Regions from separate parts of the Homo sapiens genome. Here regions 2, 3, 4 and 5 are each linked to region 1. The links are contacts of gene promoters, found by promoter capture Hi-C in blood cells and fetal thymus (Javierre and others, 2016). All regions are on one chromosome and are shown on one strand. Each heading gives the region's core, a stretch centred on a gene start or on the middle of the fragment in contact. The rest is flanking DNA. Distances are from core to core; before and after follow the strand shown.

Region 1 (2,821 bases), core at 133-2,632:
ATACTGCCCGCCAGGGTGTCGGGAGAAGCCACCTTTCCCCTAGTGATTCCTTGATTCCTGATGCCCACCCTCTGGCTCTCCTGCTTCCCAACCCCTTTCCCTTCCCTCTCTTTCTGCCAGAGAGGGCAGAGAGCCCAGCCAGGGGCCCCCTTCCATCCACTGCCCATGTATAAGGTATATGTGGGAAAGGCAAGTAATACACTCATTTTACAATGAAGGGGAATCACAGGTTTTCTGAGAAGTGGAAGAGGAAGATGCTCAGGTGGGCAGTGCTTTGTGGATGTGGGTAAAAACCCGGTGACTCAGGTCATCTCCCGGGAGTGTGTGTCACTTCCTGTCTCTGGACCGCAATTCCTCAGTGAAGCTGGGGGGGATTCTGGCCCTGCTGTCCTGAGGCTGCATGGCTACCTGCCTCGCCTGCTCCCACACCACTGCCCCCGTACCCAGCTCTGCCCAGCAACTTCATCTGGCCCTTGAGACTCACGGGAGCTGCAGTGGGCCCCAAAGAATCCAGGCTTGCATCGACAGAGGCCCGGCTTCACACACACCTCGTCTTTCTGGCAGGCGTCCGGCCCCTCACAGATGGCTGAAAGACACCCCACCCAGGTTGGAAAGACGGGAGCAGGACCAGGGGACACCCCTGCCCTCTCACTGGCTCCAGGGGCCATGCCTCCTCAAGAGGTGCCCCTTCAGGCCTGGGGGTGCGTCACAGGAGAAACCCTGACTCCTGGTATCAGGAGGGGCAGGCCCCATGGGGTAGGAAGGAAGGGTTGTCACTGGGCTACGGCCTCCCTTCTCCTTGGCTGAGGGTCTGTCCTGGCTACTCACGGATGGTGCATTCTTGATCCTTCTGCCTCCAGCCTGCGCAGCACTGCAGCTCAGCAGAGGGGCTGTGGGGCAAAAAGGGGTCAGCCGGACATGGTGGGGGGTGCAGCCTGGCCCTGAGGAAGGTGGATCACTGTCTCTGGCTGCAGTGGGGGAGGCTGCCTTAGCCCCCTGGGGAGGCCTAATGGATCTTTACAGCTAGGGTCCCCAGCCCCTCCCCTCTCCTTCCCTGACCCTTCCACCATCTGCCCTGGCTGGCCACTACCTGCCAGACCGCCATCAGCAGTCCCTTCCTTTCAGCCTAAGCCCCCTTCCTAGTCTCCTCCTTCCCCTAACGGCCTCAACACCGGTTCAGCCACCCGCATCAGACTCCCACGAGACCCACCTGCTGGCCACACGCATCAGACTCCCACGAGACCCACCTGCTGGCCACACAGACGTGCTGCCCTTTGGGGTCCAGCTCGGACCCCTGAGTCCCCCGAGTCCAGAGCAGCAGCAGCGGGAGCAGCAGCCCCAGCCCCATGGCAGGCAGCTCGGTGGGAGCGCTCGGGTTCGTCTGGCCCCCACAGCTCCCAACCCCCTCCCTGCTTCCTCTCAGGGCTTTTCCTGAGGAAACCAGGCCGGAGGGGCGGGCTGCCACGAGGCACCTCCCTGAGAGGGAGGGGGTGGCTGGAAAGACTGACACTCAAAAAAAGAAAGGGAAAGAAAGGCAATGGCAGGGCTGACTGGCCTGGGCCTGGAAGGGCCAGAAGAATGAAGTTGCAGGTCCCTGGGTGCCGGGGCCAGGGAAGGGGGTGGACTGAGGCTGGGAGCCACGGCTTTCCATCAGGCCACACTCCCAAAGCAAGGCCTGAGCTGCAAGAAGCCACCCCACCCAGTGACTGAGCAAGGAGACCAGCGAGGACCCCTCAGCCTGCCTCTGCTCCTGGCAGGGTTGGGAGGTGGCACAGACATGGACAGACAGGCGAGGAACAGTTTCTGTGTATTACGGGCAGTTCTTTATTACATGAGCTCAGGCCGTCTGCACAAAGCCCTGGGAGCTAGGCAGTCAGCTCTCATTTCATGGATGGGGAAACTGAGACTCAGAGAGGCACTCTTATATCTGGCCCCAGAGGCTCGGTACAGAGACGTAGAGAGGGAGGCGGGCTGAGACCCCGTCCTGCCCTGATGCAGGCCAGGATTGGGGCAGACCCCTGGCGAGGGCTGTGAAGGCGGGAGCCCTGTCCTCATTTGAGGCCACACATCCTTCCACAGCCAGACCCCTAAGTCAGGCCTCTGGGGCGGCTGAGGCCCCCAGACAAAGGTGTTCGTGGAGGGCAGAACAGGGCGGATCAGGAGCTGGAGACTGTGGTTGGGCCTCCTCTTCTCCCCCTAGCTTGCTGGGTGCAGGGCTGCTGGTCTCATCCTCAGAGGATTCAGCTTTACCCCGATACCATAGGCCAAAGCTGGAGAGAGACAGCCAGAGGCACTTTGAGCCAGGAAGCCAGAGAGGTCAAGGATATGGGTGAGGGCAGGGGATGGTGAGAAAAGGGGAGAGGGGGAAGAAAGGGCAGCCTGAGGGAGTGTGAAGGTGATGGGGGCCAGGGCCAGAGAAGCAGGAGGGGACGGTGTGCTTAGAGCCAAGCACAGCAGGGTGACGGGCAGAGAAGCGGGAAAGGGGATCCTGAGAAGGACCAGCCAGGGCCCTTCCTCCCTCCCCACACTCTTGCCTTTCCCCTTTCCCCAACATACAAACTCTGTATTTTGGACTCCGGGGGTGGGGGATGGTCTCCCTTGTCATCGGAGAGCAGGATCCATGGGCCAGCCTCATCCTCACTGAGACAGAGGAGAGAGGAGAAGTGAGGGCCATTGATCAAGGCCCTGAGGGACAACAGGAATCCAGCAGGGGGGATGGAGGGACTGCAGGGCCCCCGGGGCTGGAGAGAAGGCAACCCTGGGGAGATGCAGGATGTCGAGCCTTTAATTTTTAATTTTTTTTTTTTTGAGACAGGGTCTC
Region 2 (2,821 bases), core at 169-2,668, 240 kb after region 1:
GGTTGCTGAACATCGGCGTGTCTTTGGCAGTTTCTTAAAATAAGACAGCAGTGAAGTGTGCCACATTGGTTGACTCTTCCTTTCACAAAAGCTTTCTCCATAGCCGGCGATGCTGTTTGACAGCATTTTACCCACAGGAGAACTTTTTCAAACTGGAGTCTCTCCCTCTCAGGTCCTGTCACTGCTTTATCAGCCAAGCTTATGCAAATTCTAAATCCTTTGTCGTCATTTCAACAATGCTCACAGCGTTCTCACCACAAGAGATTTCATCTCAAGAAAGCACTTTCCTTGCCCATCGTAAGGAGCAGCTCCTTATCCGTTCAAGTTTGATCGTGAGATTACAGCAGTTCAGGCCCATTTTCAGGCTCCATTTGTAATTCTAGTTCTCTCGTTATTTTCGTCACATCTACAGATCCCTCCTCCACCAAAGTCTTGAAGCCTCAGTGTCTACCTTGAGGGTTGGAATCAACTTGTTCCAAACTCCCGTTGATGTTGGGATTTTGATCTCCTCCCATGAATCATGAATGTTCCTTTTTTTTTTAACTTGAGACAGGGTCTCATTCTGTCACTCAGGCTGGAGTGCACTGGCTTGATCACAGCTCACTGCAGTCTCAACCTCCCCAGGCTCCCAAGCTGGGACTACAGGTGCTGCCACACCTGGCTAATTGTATTTTTTGTAGAGACTGAGTTGTGTCATGTTGCCCAGGCTGCTCTCAAACTCCTGGGCTCAAGGGATCTCCCTGCCTCAACCTCTCAAAGTGCCAGGAGTTACAGGTGTGAGCGACTGTGCCCAGCCAACTGTTCTTAATAGCATCTAGAATGGTGAATCCTTTTCAGGTTTTCAATTTACTTTCCCCAGATCCATCAGAGGAATCACTGTGGCAACTATCGCCTCATGAAATATGTCTCTTAGACTTAAAAAGTCAAAATTACTCCTTGATTTGCATGGGCTGCAGAATAGATGTTGTTATCAAGCATGAAAACAATATTAATCTCCTTGTTCTGTGCATCTCCATTGAGCCCTCGGGTGAACAGGTGCATTGTCAATATATTAATCTCCTTGTACTGTGTGTCTCCATTGAGCCCTTGGGTGAACAGGTGCATTGTCAATATATTAATCTCCTTGTACTGTGTGTCTCCATTGAGCTCTTGTGTGAACAGGTGCATTGTCAATATATTAATCTCCTCGTACTGTGTGTCTCCATTGAGCTCTCGGGTGAACAGGTGCATTGTCAATGAGCAGTCATATTTTTAAAGGAGTCTCTTTTTCTGAGTAGTAGGTCTCAACAGTGGGCTTAAAATATTCAATAAACTACACTATAAATAGATATGCTGTCATCCAAGCTTTGATATTCTATTTATAAAGCAGAGGCAAAGTAGATTTAGCATAGTTCTTATGAGCCCTAAGATTTTTGACATGGTCAATGAGCACTGGCTTCACCTTATAGTCCCCAGCTGCATTCGCGCCTAACAGGAGAGTCAGCCTTTCCTTTGAAGCTTTGAAGCCAGGCATTGATTTCTACTCTCTAGGACGAATGTTCTTGATGGCATCTTCTTCCAGAAGGCTATTCTGTCTACGTTGAAAATCTGTTGTTGAGTGCAGCCACCTTCATTGGTGGTCCTAGCTAGATCTTCTGGATAACTTGCTGCAGCTTCTCCATCAGCACTTGCTGCTTCACCTTGCACTTTTGTTATGGTGACGGCTTATTTCCTTAAACCTCATGAACCAACATCTGCTGGCTGCCATCTTTTCTTCTGCAGCTTTTTTTTTTTTTTTTTTTGAGACAGAGTCTCACTCTGTCACCCAGGCTGGAGTGCAGTGGTGCAATCACAGCTCACCTCAGCCTCTGGAGTAGCTGGGACTACAGGTGCACACCACCGTGCCCTGACAGATTTTTGTAGAGACTAGGTCTCACTATGTTGCCTGGCTGGTATCGAACTCCTTGGCTTAGGCAATCATGTTGCCTCTGCCTCCCAAAGTGCTGGGATTACAGGTGTGAGCCACTGCACCTGGCCTCTTCTGCAGCTTCCTGACCTCTCTCAGCCTTCACAGAATTGAAGAAAGGTGAGGCCTTGCTCTGGGTTAGGCTTTGGCTTAAGAGAATGTTGTGGCTTGCTTGATATTCTATCTAGACCACTACAGCTTACTCCATATCAGCAGTAAGGCTGTTTGCTTTCTTATTTGTGTATTCAAAGAAGAGAGACAGGAATACTTGATTGGAGGATCAGTCAGCATACATACAACATTCATCAATATAAGTTCCCCATCTTATATGGGTGTAGTTGGTGGCACCCCAGAACAACTACAATAGTGACGTTAAAGATCACTGTAGGCCAGGCGCGGTGGCTCATTCCTGTAATCCCAGCACTTTGGGAGGCTGAGGCAGGCGGATCACCTGAAGTCAGGAGATCGAGACCATCCTGACCAACGTGGTTAAAACCCCGTCTCTACTAAAAATACAAAAATTAGCTGGGCGTAGTGGTGCATGCCTGTAGTCCCAGCTTCTCGGGAGGCTGAGGCAGGAGAATCGTTTGACCCTGGGAGGCGGAGATTTCAGTGAGCTGAGATCATGCCACTGCACTCCAGCCTGGTGACAGAGCGAGACTCCGTCTCAGAAAAAAAAAAAAAATCACCATAACAGATATGATAATAATGAAAAAGGGCCAGGCATGGTGGCTTACTCCTATAATCCTAGCACTTCGGGAGGCCAAGGTGGGTGGATCACTTGAGGTTTGGAGTTCGAGACCAGCCTACCCAACATGGCAAAACCCCATCTCTACTAAAAAATACAAAAATTAGCCAGGCGTGGTAGTGCACGCC
Region 3 (2,821 bases), core at 97-2,596, 250 kb before region 1:
TTCTACATAAACCCATTTATTTAAAACGGAAAAAAAGAAAGCAACAGGATCTTCAACCTTCATAACTCAAAAAACCCAGCCTCAGCCGAGCGCCTGGAATAGGTTAAGATCCCCCACGAAGTACAGACCAGCATTCCGAGCCTGCAGAGTCAACCAAAATACAGTTACTGAACACTATTGGAAATAACTTTATTTCAACAGGTCTTCCCATTTGTCATCACGGTGCGCACAAACTGTAAAGTCATCGTTTTTACAAACGGGGGGACGGAGGCTCGGGCTCTACAAAGGCTCGAACTCTCAGAGTCGTGGCCTCCTGGTTCTATCCATCAGAACCCACGGGTGATGGAGCCAGAGAAAGGTTACAGGAACTTCGAGATCTCCTGTTTTAAGTCTGAGGAAAGGGAGGGAGTGAGGATTTTCTGGGCCTCCCCAGAAGACGACGAGGAGGAAAAGCCCCGAAACCCCTCACTACGAGGTGCCGGCCTACGGGAAAGAAACCCGATCGCAGCATGGGAGCCTGCCACCGCCCGAAGACGAACTGCAGTGATTCCCACTCACCCCTCTCCCCCCACCATCATCCACGACTGTCCCCCACCTCAGGCCTGAGGAAGCCCATCGCTCTCAAAGGTCCTCCTTTGTGAGACTCCACGGCCGCCGCCCCACACGGGGCCTCCGGGGAAAAGCCACCGCCCCCACCCGCCATATTTCCCTGAAAGGCGCCCGCGCTACAGCTCCCGGTCTTCGCTCTCTCCCATGTGGCGGGTGCTGCTTCCCCCGTCACCCCACCCAATTGTTCTCCACATCCCAAGGCCGTCCCAGAAGCTCCCATGAGGGTGGCTCGTTCGGAGACAGCACCCGCCATCTCCTCCCCCTCCCCCGCCCCGGGACTCGCCCTCCCCCCAGCCGCCATTTTACAACCAACTCCTCCACCCCGTCGCCCCGGCCTCCCGGCCCGCGAGTTGTTTGCAGTTAAGGACGGCGAAGGGGTCACATTCCAGGGCATAGAGCCTCCCATCGCCCCGGGAGCTCCCAGGCCATTTCCTGCTTCCCGAACCCAAGCCCCCGGGCCAGGCTCGCAGACGATGCCGCCATTTTGTCTCCTGTTCCCGGCCTCTGTGGGCGGCGGCAGAGGGTCCGAGAATTCCAGCCCCCCGTTGCCCCCCCAACTCACCGTCGTATCGCTCAGCCTGCTCGGCCAGCTTCGCCTGGTACACCAGATCCTCTCGATCATCCATAGCGGCAGCGGCTCCGGCAGGGTCTGCGCGACGGATGGAAGCGGATAGTGTCTCCGACTCTCTCAGCCTCTCGCTCCGCGTCCGGGCAGCAAAAATGGCGGCGCCTCAATCCGGGACTTCCGCCTGCGCACGCGGACAACTGCTCAGCTCTATGGCAACCGCTCCCTGGCAACTGGCGCGGGGGGCGGGTCCTGGAACTCGGCGCCCGAAGCGGCTGGAACGAGCGCACGAGACGCCTCTCCTCTGTCGGCTCAGCGGGCGCCGGAGCCCAGAGGCGGGAACTGCGACTGCCGAAAGGGAGCGGCCCCCGGGGAACGAGAAGGGCTGAGGCGGGGCCGGCCGGGACTGCTCCTGAAAAAAGCCAGCGAGAGACCTGGGTCAGACCGGGGCCCGAGGCCCGACCTGCGGAAAAGAACGACGGAGGCTGTAACGGTTTCTGTCATGGCAGGTCTTCTTTCCCGAAATCTGAGGCTGTCACTACCGCGCCCTGGTTTTCTTTTCTTTTTTCTTTTTTCTTTTTTCTTTTTGAGACGGAGTTTCCCTCTTGTTCCCCAGGCTGGAGTGCAGTGGTGCGATCTCGGGTTACCACAACGTCCGCCTTCCCGGGTTCAAGTGATTCTGCTGCCTCAGCCTCTCGAGTAGCTGGGATTTCAGGCCCCCGCCACCACCCCCAGCTTTTGTATTTTTAATAGAGATGGGGTTTCACCATGTTGGCCAGGCTGGTCTCGAACTCCCGACCTCAGATGATCCGCCCCCCCTCGGCCTCCCAAAGCGCTGGGATTCCAGGGGTGAGCCACCGCGCCCAGCCCACGTCCTAGTTTTCTCGGCCAAGCCTGGTCATGGGCCTTTTTCAGACACTTTTAGACTCAGGGTAACGAACCGGGCCCTGGCCGGGCGCGGCGGCTCATGCCTGTCATCCCAGCACTTTGGGAGGCCAAGGCGGGAGGATCACAAGGTCAGGAGTTCGAGACCAGCCTGGCCAATATAGTGAAACCCCGTCTCTACTAAAAATACAAAAAATTAGCTTGGCATGGTGGTGCATGCCTGTCATCCCAGCTACTCAGGAGGCTGAGGCAGGAGAATCTCTTGAACCCGGGAGGCGGAGGTTACAGTGAGCCGAGATCCTCCCATTGCACTCCAGCCCAGGCGACAGTGTGAGACTGTGTTTCAAAAGAAAAATTATATATATATACAAAAATTAGCTGGGCGTGGTGGTGCATGCCTGTAATCCCAGCTACTCCAGAGGCTGAGGCAGGAGAATCGCTTGAACCCGGGAGTGGGAGGGTGCAGTGAACCGAGAGCACACCATTGCACTCCAGCCTGGGCAACAAGAGCACAACTCTGTCTCAAAACAAAGAAAAAGAAAAAAAACGAACTGGGCCCTGTTACAGTTGTCAGGGACAGGGGAGCTCCAGTTTTCACGCCTCAACTTTCCCCTCACACTGATCTTTGTCTTCTCCTGTTTAACCTTTTTCCCTCCCTAGGCCCACTATGAATAGGAGCAGGGAATTTGTTAGATGAGGGTGGTGTGGAGTACATGGTACAGAAGAGTTGGACCAAGATCAAATAAAGATTGTGGAGGCAGG
Region 4 (2,821 bases), core at 82-2,581, 220 kb after region 1:
GTATTATTAAATATCTATATAATTTAGAATTCTTGTGTCCACTTGATGAGTTGACTCTTATTATTATGAAATGATTTTATCCCTGGGAAATTCTGTGCTTTGAAGTCTGCTTTGATATTAGCATAGCCACTTTGGCGTTTTTTTTGTTTTGTTTTGTTTTTTCTCTCCTAGAGACAACATCTTGCTCTGTTGCCCAGGCTGGAGTACAGTGGTACATTCACGGCTCAGTGCAGCCTCAACACCTTGGGCTCAAGCAATCCTCCCACCTCCGCCTCCTGAGTAGCTGGGACTACAGGCATGTGCCACCACGCCCAGCTAATTTTATTTTGTTTTTTATTTATTTATTTATTTTTGAGACGAAGTCTCACTCTGTTGCCAGGCTGGAGTGCAGTGGCGTGATCTCGGCTCACTGCAACCTCCGCCTCCCAGGTTCAAGCGATTCTCCTGCCTCAGCCTCCTGAGTAGCTAGGGCTACAGGCACGCATCACCATGCTCAGCTGATTTTTGTATTTTTAGTAGAGATAGGGTTTCACCATGTTGGCCAGGATGGTCTCCATCTCTTGACGTCATGATCTGCCCGCCTCAGCCTCCCAAAGTGCTGGGGTTAAAGGCGTGAGCCACCATAATTGGCCTAATTTTATTTTTTGTGGACATGGAGTCCTGCCATGTTGCCCACACTGGTCTTGAATTCCTGGCCTCCAGCAATCCTCCTGCCTCAGCCTCCCAAGTAGTTGGGACTGCAGGCTGCACCTGTAGTCTGGGAGGTGGAGTGCCGGGCCTGCCTGTGGACTGCCTGGACTGGGGCTGGGACGGCAGTGCCACCACGCCCGGCTCATTTCTTTTCTTTTTATTTGTAGGGGCGGGGTCTCACTTTGTTGCCCAGGCTGGTCTCAAACTCCTGGCCTCAATCCTCCTGCCTTAGCCTCTCAAAAGGCTGAATTACAGGCATAAGCTACTGTGCCTGGCCATTGTGTATACTTTCTATTGCTAGCCGTTCAAGTTCACTAATGGTTTCTCAGGCAGTGCCTAATCTGCTGTTAATCCCATTGAGTGTATTTTTCTTCTCAGATAGTATAGTTTTTATCCCTAGAAGCTTGATTTTGGGTCTTTAAAAACTCATCTACATCTCTGCTTAATTTTTGGGACATACAGAGCACAATGACAGTATTTGTTGTAAGGTCCTTGTCTGTGGATTCTGGTGTCTGTGTTAGGTCCGGATTTGTTTCCGTCAGTTGATCCCGGCCTCTCCGATCATGGATCATATTTTCCTGCTGCTTTTCATGCCTGGCCCTCGGACCGAATGCCAGACATTGGGATTCGTACCTCGTTGGGTGCTAGAAACTTTTGTAATCCTGTAATTATTCTTGAGCTTTTTTCAGGGATACAGTTAACTTGGAGACAGTTTGATCTTTTGGTGTGTTGCTTTTAAGATTTATTAGAGAATCAGAGAGCTGCATTTAGTCTAGGTGTAGTTATTCCCAATACTGAATCGAGACCTGACAGACTGTTCTACCTCGTGCCCCATGAATATGAATTTTTCCCATCTGACTGGTAGAAACAGGTACTATTTCAAGCTTGCTGTAAACACAGGCATGGTTCCCTCTGGCCTTCTCAGATGATTCTCACCCTGGCCTCAGATCGTGTCCACACACACACACGGGCCAACCAGGACTCTGCTGACTACCCAGGAAACCTGCCACCCATTTCTGGAGTTCTCTGTGTACAGCCCTCTCTTCTCTGCTACTCTGTCCGGCCAGCTAGACGGCGATCTCCCCAGACTCTCGGCCCCCATTTCTGCACCTCGGGTTCTGGCAGGCCCCCTAAGCCCTTGAGGCACTGAGCTGGTGCAGACCCACTCGCTCGCTTTCCTGTGCACAGCAGGCGCTACCCCTCATTGAAAACCATGCGTCTCACGTATTTTCTCCCTTTCTGGTGGGGGGAGGGGGTTATGTTAGGTGTTAGGGTGAACCTGGTCTCTGTTGCTCCATTTGTCCGGTACGTAGTTTTAAAAGTTGAATATTTTTGCGAGGTGTGTCCTTAAAAACAAAACAGCATTCTCCTGCCTCACTTTTCTTTGGCCTCTGACTCCTGTCTAGAGACAGTCTGTTTCAAATCTCACAGCTGTTTCTTCTCTGTTTGTCTCCATATTTCTAAATAACACATTTGTGCTGCTCTTCGTTAATTTTTTCAGTTGAAACATTTGTTTATTAACTTCACGCTATGGGAGATTAGAATGTGGTGCTCTCTCTTTTTTTTTTTTCTTTTTTAAGAGTCTCACACTGTCACCCAGGCTGGAGTCCAGTGGCGTGATCTTGGCTCACTGCAACCTCCGCCTCCTGGACTCAAGCAATCCTCCTTGCCTCAGCCTCCTCAGTAGCTGGGATTACAGGCGTGCACCACTGCACCCTGCTAATTTTTGTTTTTATTTTTTTATTTTTTGAGACGGAGTCTCACTGTGTCGCCCAGGCTGGAGTGCAGTGGCGCGGTCTCGGTTGACTGCAAGCTCCACCTCCCGGATTCACGCCATTCTCCTGCTTGAGTAGCTGGGACTACAGGCACCCACCACCATGCCCGGGTGATTTTTTTTGTATTTTCAGTAGAGACGGGGTTTCACTGTGTTAGCCAGGATGGTCTCCATCTCCTGACCTCGTGATCTGCCCGCCTCAGCCTCCCAAAGTGCTGGGATTACAGGCGTGAGCCACCGCCCCCAACCGTATTTTTTTTTTTTTTTTTTTTTTTTTGTAGCGATGGAGTCTATGTTGTCCAGGCTGGTCTTGAACTCCTGGGCTCAAGCAATCCGCCCACCTGAGCCTCCCAAAGT
Region 5 (2,821 bases), core at 109-2,608, 140 kb after region 1:
AAACAAAAAACAAACAACAGCAGCAAAAAAGCAGGGTTTCTCGACCCTGACACTATTGACACTGTTGCTGGCTCCTTCTTTGCTGGGGTTGGTGGGGGGGGCACTGTCTTGTACCCGGGAGGATGCTTAGCAGCACCTCTGGCCTCTTTCGAATAGATGCCAGCAGCACCCCCCTTCCAAGTCATGACAATCCAAAATGTCTCCAGAGATCGCTTGAGCCCAGGAGTTGCAGGAAGCAGTGAGCTGTGACCGAGCCACTGTACTCCAGCCTGGGCAAGACAGCAAGACCCCTTCTCAAAAAAAAAAAAAAAAAAGTCTCCAGGCAATGCCACATGTTGTCTGGGGGTAAAATCAGCCCTGGTTCAAGCAAACGCTTTAAAAGGAAGAGGATGCAGAGTAGGGAGAAGGCAGAGAGCCTGGAGCTGAGAGTGCTGGGAATGAGACAGCCAAAGGGGCTGTGACGAACCAGAGAACAACCAGAAGGAGAGCTATACTGGAGGGTGGGTGGGGCTGCCTGGCCAAGTTCTCTCTGGGAAACTCACTTGAGATCTAAAAGCTTTCCCCATATCTCCCAGGAGGAAATTCTTTTTTTTTTTTTTTTTGAGATGGAGTCTCGCTCTGTCGCCCAGGCTACAGTGCAGTGGCGCGATCTTGGCTCACTGCAAGCTCCGCCTCCCAGGAGGAAATTCTAAAGCGTTATGTTTGTTAGCAAAACAGAAGGCAAAGATCTCTCCTAAAGAGGAAATAAAGAAGTTTCAACATGCTTTTAAAAACACCATAGAAAAAAAGTAATACCCAGAAGAGCCTAGGAAAGGAACAGTGTGTGCCCTGTGAAGTGGGAAAGGGACTCACCCGTTGAAAAAGATCTGGGCCAATTTGAAGAGCTCATGGCCCATTTCAACACTGGACGGCCCGTGGCGAACCTCCACCACGTAGAGACTCCTCTGTAGATGGGTGGCTGACTTTTGCCAGTCTCCTGTGAGAAGAGAAAAATCTTGTTCCAGAAAAGAACCACTGTCAACTGTGGATGCATATTTTCAGGGGGAGGAAATGGAACGAGAGGGGGAGCACCCTCAGTTTACAGAGCGGGGGGTAACCAGGCAGACAAGGCCGGGGCCACGGCGAAGTGCCCACAGCAGACTGTTCCCGACGCAGAACGTGAAGGCTCATGCTGTACCTAAGGCAGCACAGGCCCGGGCCAGGCCATCCGCGATCTCTCCCACCACGGCGTGCTCTGCCCACAGGAAGCTCTCGGCGTCACGCTGGCACCCCGACAGCCGCTGAACAGCTCGCTCTGTCAATGCAGAGGAAAGACGTCTCACTATAGACAGAAGCCCAGTCCTAGGAATGAGAATCCAGGTCTCAAATCCTCTGAATCAGCTGGGCTGAATGTGGAAATTCCCCCTGGCCTCCCTGGGTTGTCACCAACGCACAATGTCTGTTCCAATAAAGCTGCTGTTTTCTTCTGTTTTCTCTGTCAGTGGAGAAAGGCGCTAGGGGAGGCCTCCCCACATTTACACTGTATTTTCAACATTAACTTCCCAACTCGACCAACTCTACCTTTCACGTACGGCCATGATTTCTCTTGACCCTGAAATCTAAGCTAAAGGTCAACTTTCATAAAGCAGGGTAAATAAAAATCCCATGATGTCAAGCTCTAAGGCAGGGTTTTCAAGGGCAATGGGGAGCTCCGCAAGTCTCAGACAAAAGCAAGACACTCCTATCAGCTGGGCTCACGCCCCACTGCTCTCTAGCAGAGACTAGCTCTGAGGAGGGAAGAACCGCCCTTCTAGGAAGTTACATCACTAGGCCCTGGAATTAAAATAAATGACACTCAACTTCTGGAACTGCACACAGCTCACGGATGTCAGCGATGACCCGTTAGTTGGCAGGGGTACTTCAACTTAGCAATCAGATGCAGAAGAAAACAACAGCTGAAATCACCTGGCCCCTTTTCAAGGGCCCCACAGTAACAAAGCTGGTCAGGGTTTGGACTCACTGGCCTATATAGCCATCTTGTGGCTGGCATGGGGATAATTACATCCAATTCTCCCATCAGTACTGAGTATCCCTGAGTCCAAAACGGTATCAGAACAAATAAAAGGGAAGGGGCTGGAGGACCAAAGCAGGGAGCCAGTCTCACCTAGTTCACCATCTCTGAGAAGCTTCTGGGCCACTCTGACCTGCTGCTGTAGGTCCTGTAACCGAGAGACCAGGTGGTCCCTGCTGACGGCGGATTCTGCACAAGATCTGCTGCCACAGCGCAGCACGTCATCTCCCTGTGGAAGTCAGTTTTCTCTTTATTCCAATGCCAGGGTCAGTTATCAACACCGCCTGTGCTTACATTACAGGACTGCTCCATAGTTTCTTACCTCATGGGGGAAAGAGACTCCTGTAACAATACATCGTGACGAAAGTCTGAGCGAATTTTGTTTGATGGCGGCAATGGCGGCAATTCTAATGAAGTGTATCAGCAGTAGCTGATCCCACCTGAGATTTCATTTTTGGAACAGAACTGGTACAGTGCACAATTTCTTTCCACTTCTATAGCCCCTCTTGTCGCTTTTTGGGGCCAGGACTTTAGATGACAAACATTTCTTTTTTTTGAGATGGAGTCTCGCTCGGTCTCCAGGCTGGAGTGCAGTGGTGCGATCTCGGCTCACTCCAAGCTCCGCCTCCCGGGTTCACGCCATTCTCCTGCCTCAGTCTCCCGAGTAGCTGGGACTACAGGTGCCCACCACCAAGCCCGGCTAAATTTTTGTGTGTGTTATTTATTTTTTTTTTTTAGTAGAGACGGGGTTTCACCGTGTAAGCCAGGATG

What was found. The method cuts DNA at HindIII sites, captures the fragments that hold promoters and counts their contacts. A CHiCAGO score of 5 or more calls a contact.
Region 2: a fragment that was not itself captured here is called in contact with the fragment with the promoter of SCARF1 in region 1 in 1 of 17 cell types (erythroblasts); the score reaches 5.1 in erythroblasts.
Region 3: a contact is called between the fragment with the promoter of YWHAE here and the fragment with the promoter of SCARF1 in region 1, in 1 of 17 cell types (neutrophils). The highest score is 5.7, in neutrophils.
Region 4: a contact is called between a fragment that was not itself captured here and the fragment with the promoter of SCARF1 in region 1, in 4 of 17 cell types (M1 macrophages, M0 macrophages, megakaryocytes and 1 more). The highest score is 8.3, in M1 macrophages.
Region 5: a contact is called between a fragment that was not itself captured here and the fragment with the promoter of SCARF1 in region 1, in 1 of 17 cell types (M1 macrophages). The highest score is 5.5, in M1 macrophages.

The regions. Positions count from the first base shown.
Region 1 is chr17:1,644,350-1,647,170 of GRCh38, forward strand. It overlaps SCARF1 (scavenger receptor class F member 1), which reads right to left and starts at 1,383. Exons shown (of 11, transcript NM_003693.4): 1 at 1,248-1,383; 2 at 829-890; 3 at 485-586. The coding sequence starts at 1,348. RILP (Rab interacting lysosomal protein) reads right to left here. Exons shown (of 8, transcript NM_031430.3): 7 at 2,557-2,640; 8 at 1,801-2,270. The coding sequence ends at 2,093. The HindIII fragment of the contact is 11,256 bases long and covers 1-2,821 here.
Region 2 is chr17:1,884,944-1,887,764 of GRCh38, forward strand. The region is part of intron 13 of RPA1 (replication protein A1); the gene reads left to right. Among named protein-coding and RNA genes, the nearest start is that of RPA1, 56 kb to the left of the region's middle. The HindIII fragment of the contact is 153 bases long and covers 1,343-1,495 here.
Region 3 is chr17:1,398,876-1,401,696 of GRCh38, forward strand. YWHAE (tyrosine 3-monooxygenase/tryptophan 5-monooxygenase activation protein epsilon) reads right to left here and starts at 1,347. Exons shown (of 6, transcript NM_006761.5): 1 at 1,172-1,347. The coding sequence starts at 1,235. RefSeq lists enhancers at 1-569, 570-1,207, 1,208-1,845, 2,788-2,821. The HindIII fragment of the contact is 7,246 bases long and covers 1-2,821 here.
Region 4 is chr17:1,859,479-1,862,299 of GRCh38, forward strand. The region is part of intron 5 of RPA1 (replication protein A1); the gene reads left to right. Among named protein-coding and RNA genes, the nearest start is that of RPA1, 31 kb to the left of the region's middle. The HindIII fragment of the contact is 481 bases long and covers 1,092-1,572 here.
Region 5 is chr17:1,782,183-1,785,003 of GRCh38, forward strand. SMYD4 (SET and MYND domain containing 4) reads right to left here. Exons shown (of 11, transcript NM_052928.3): 8 at 2,144-2,279; 9 at 1,178-1,294; 10 at 853-976. Among named protein-coding and RNA genes, the nearest start is that of SERPINF1, 22 kb to the left of the region's middle. RefSeq lists an enhancer at 1,673-1,967. The HindIII fragment of the contact is 1,609 bases long and covers 555-2,163 here.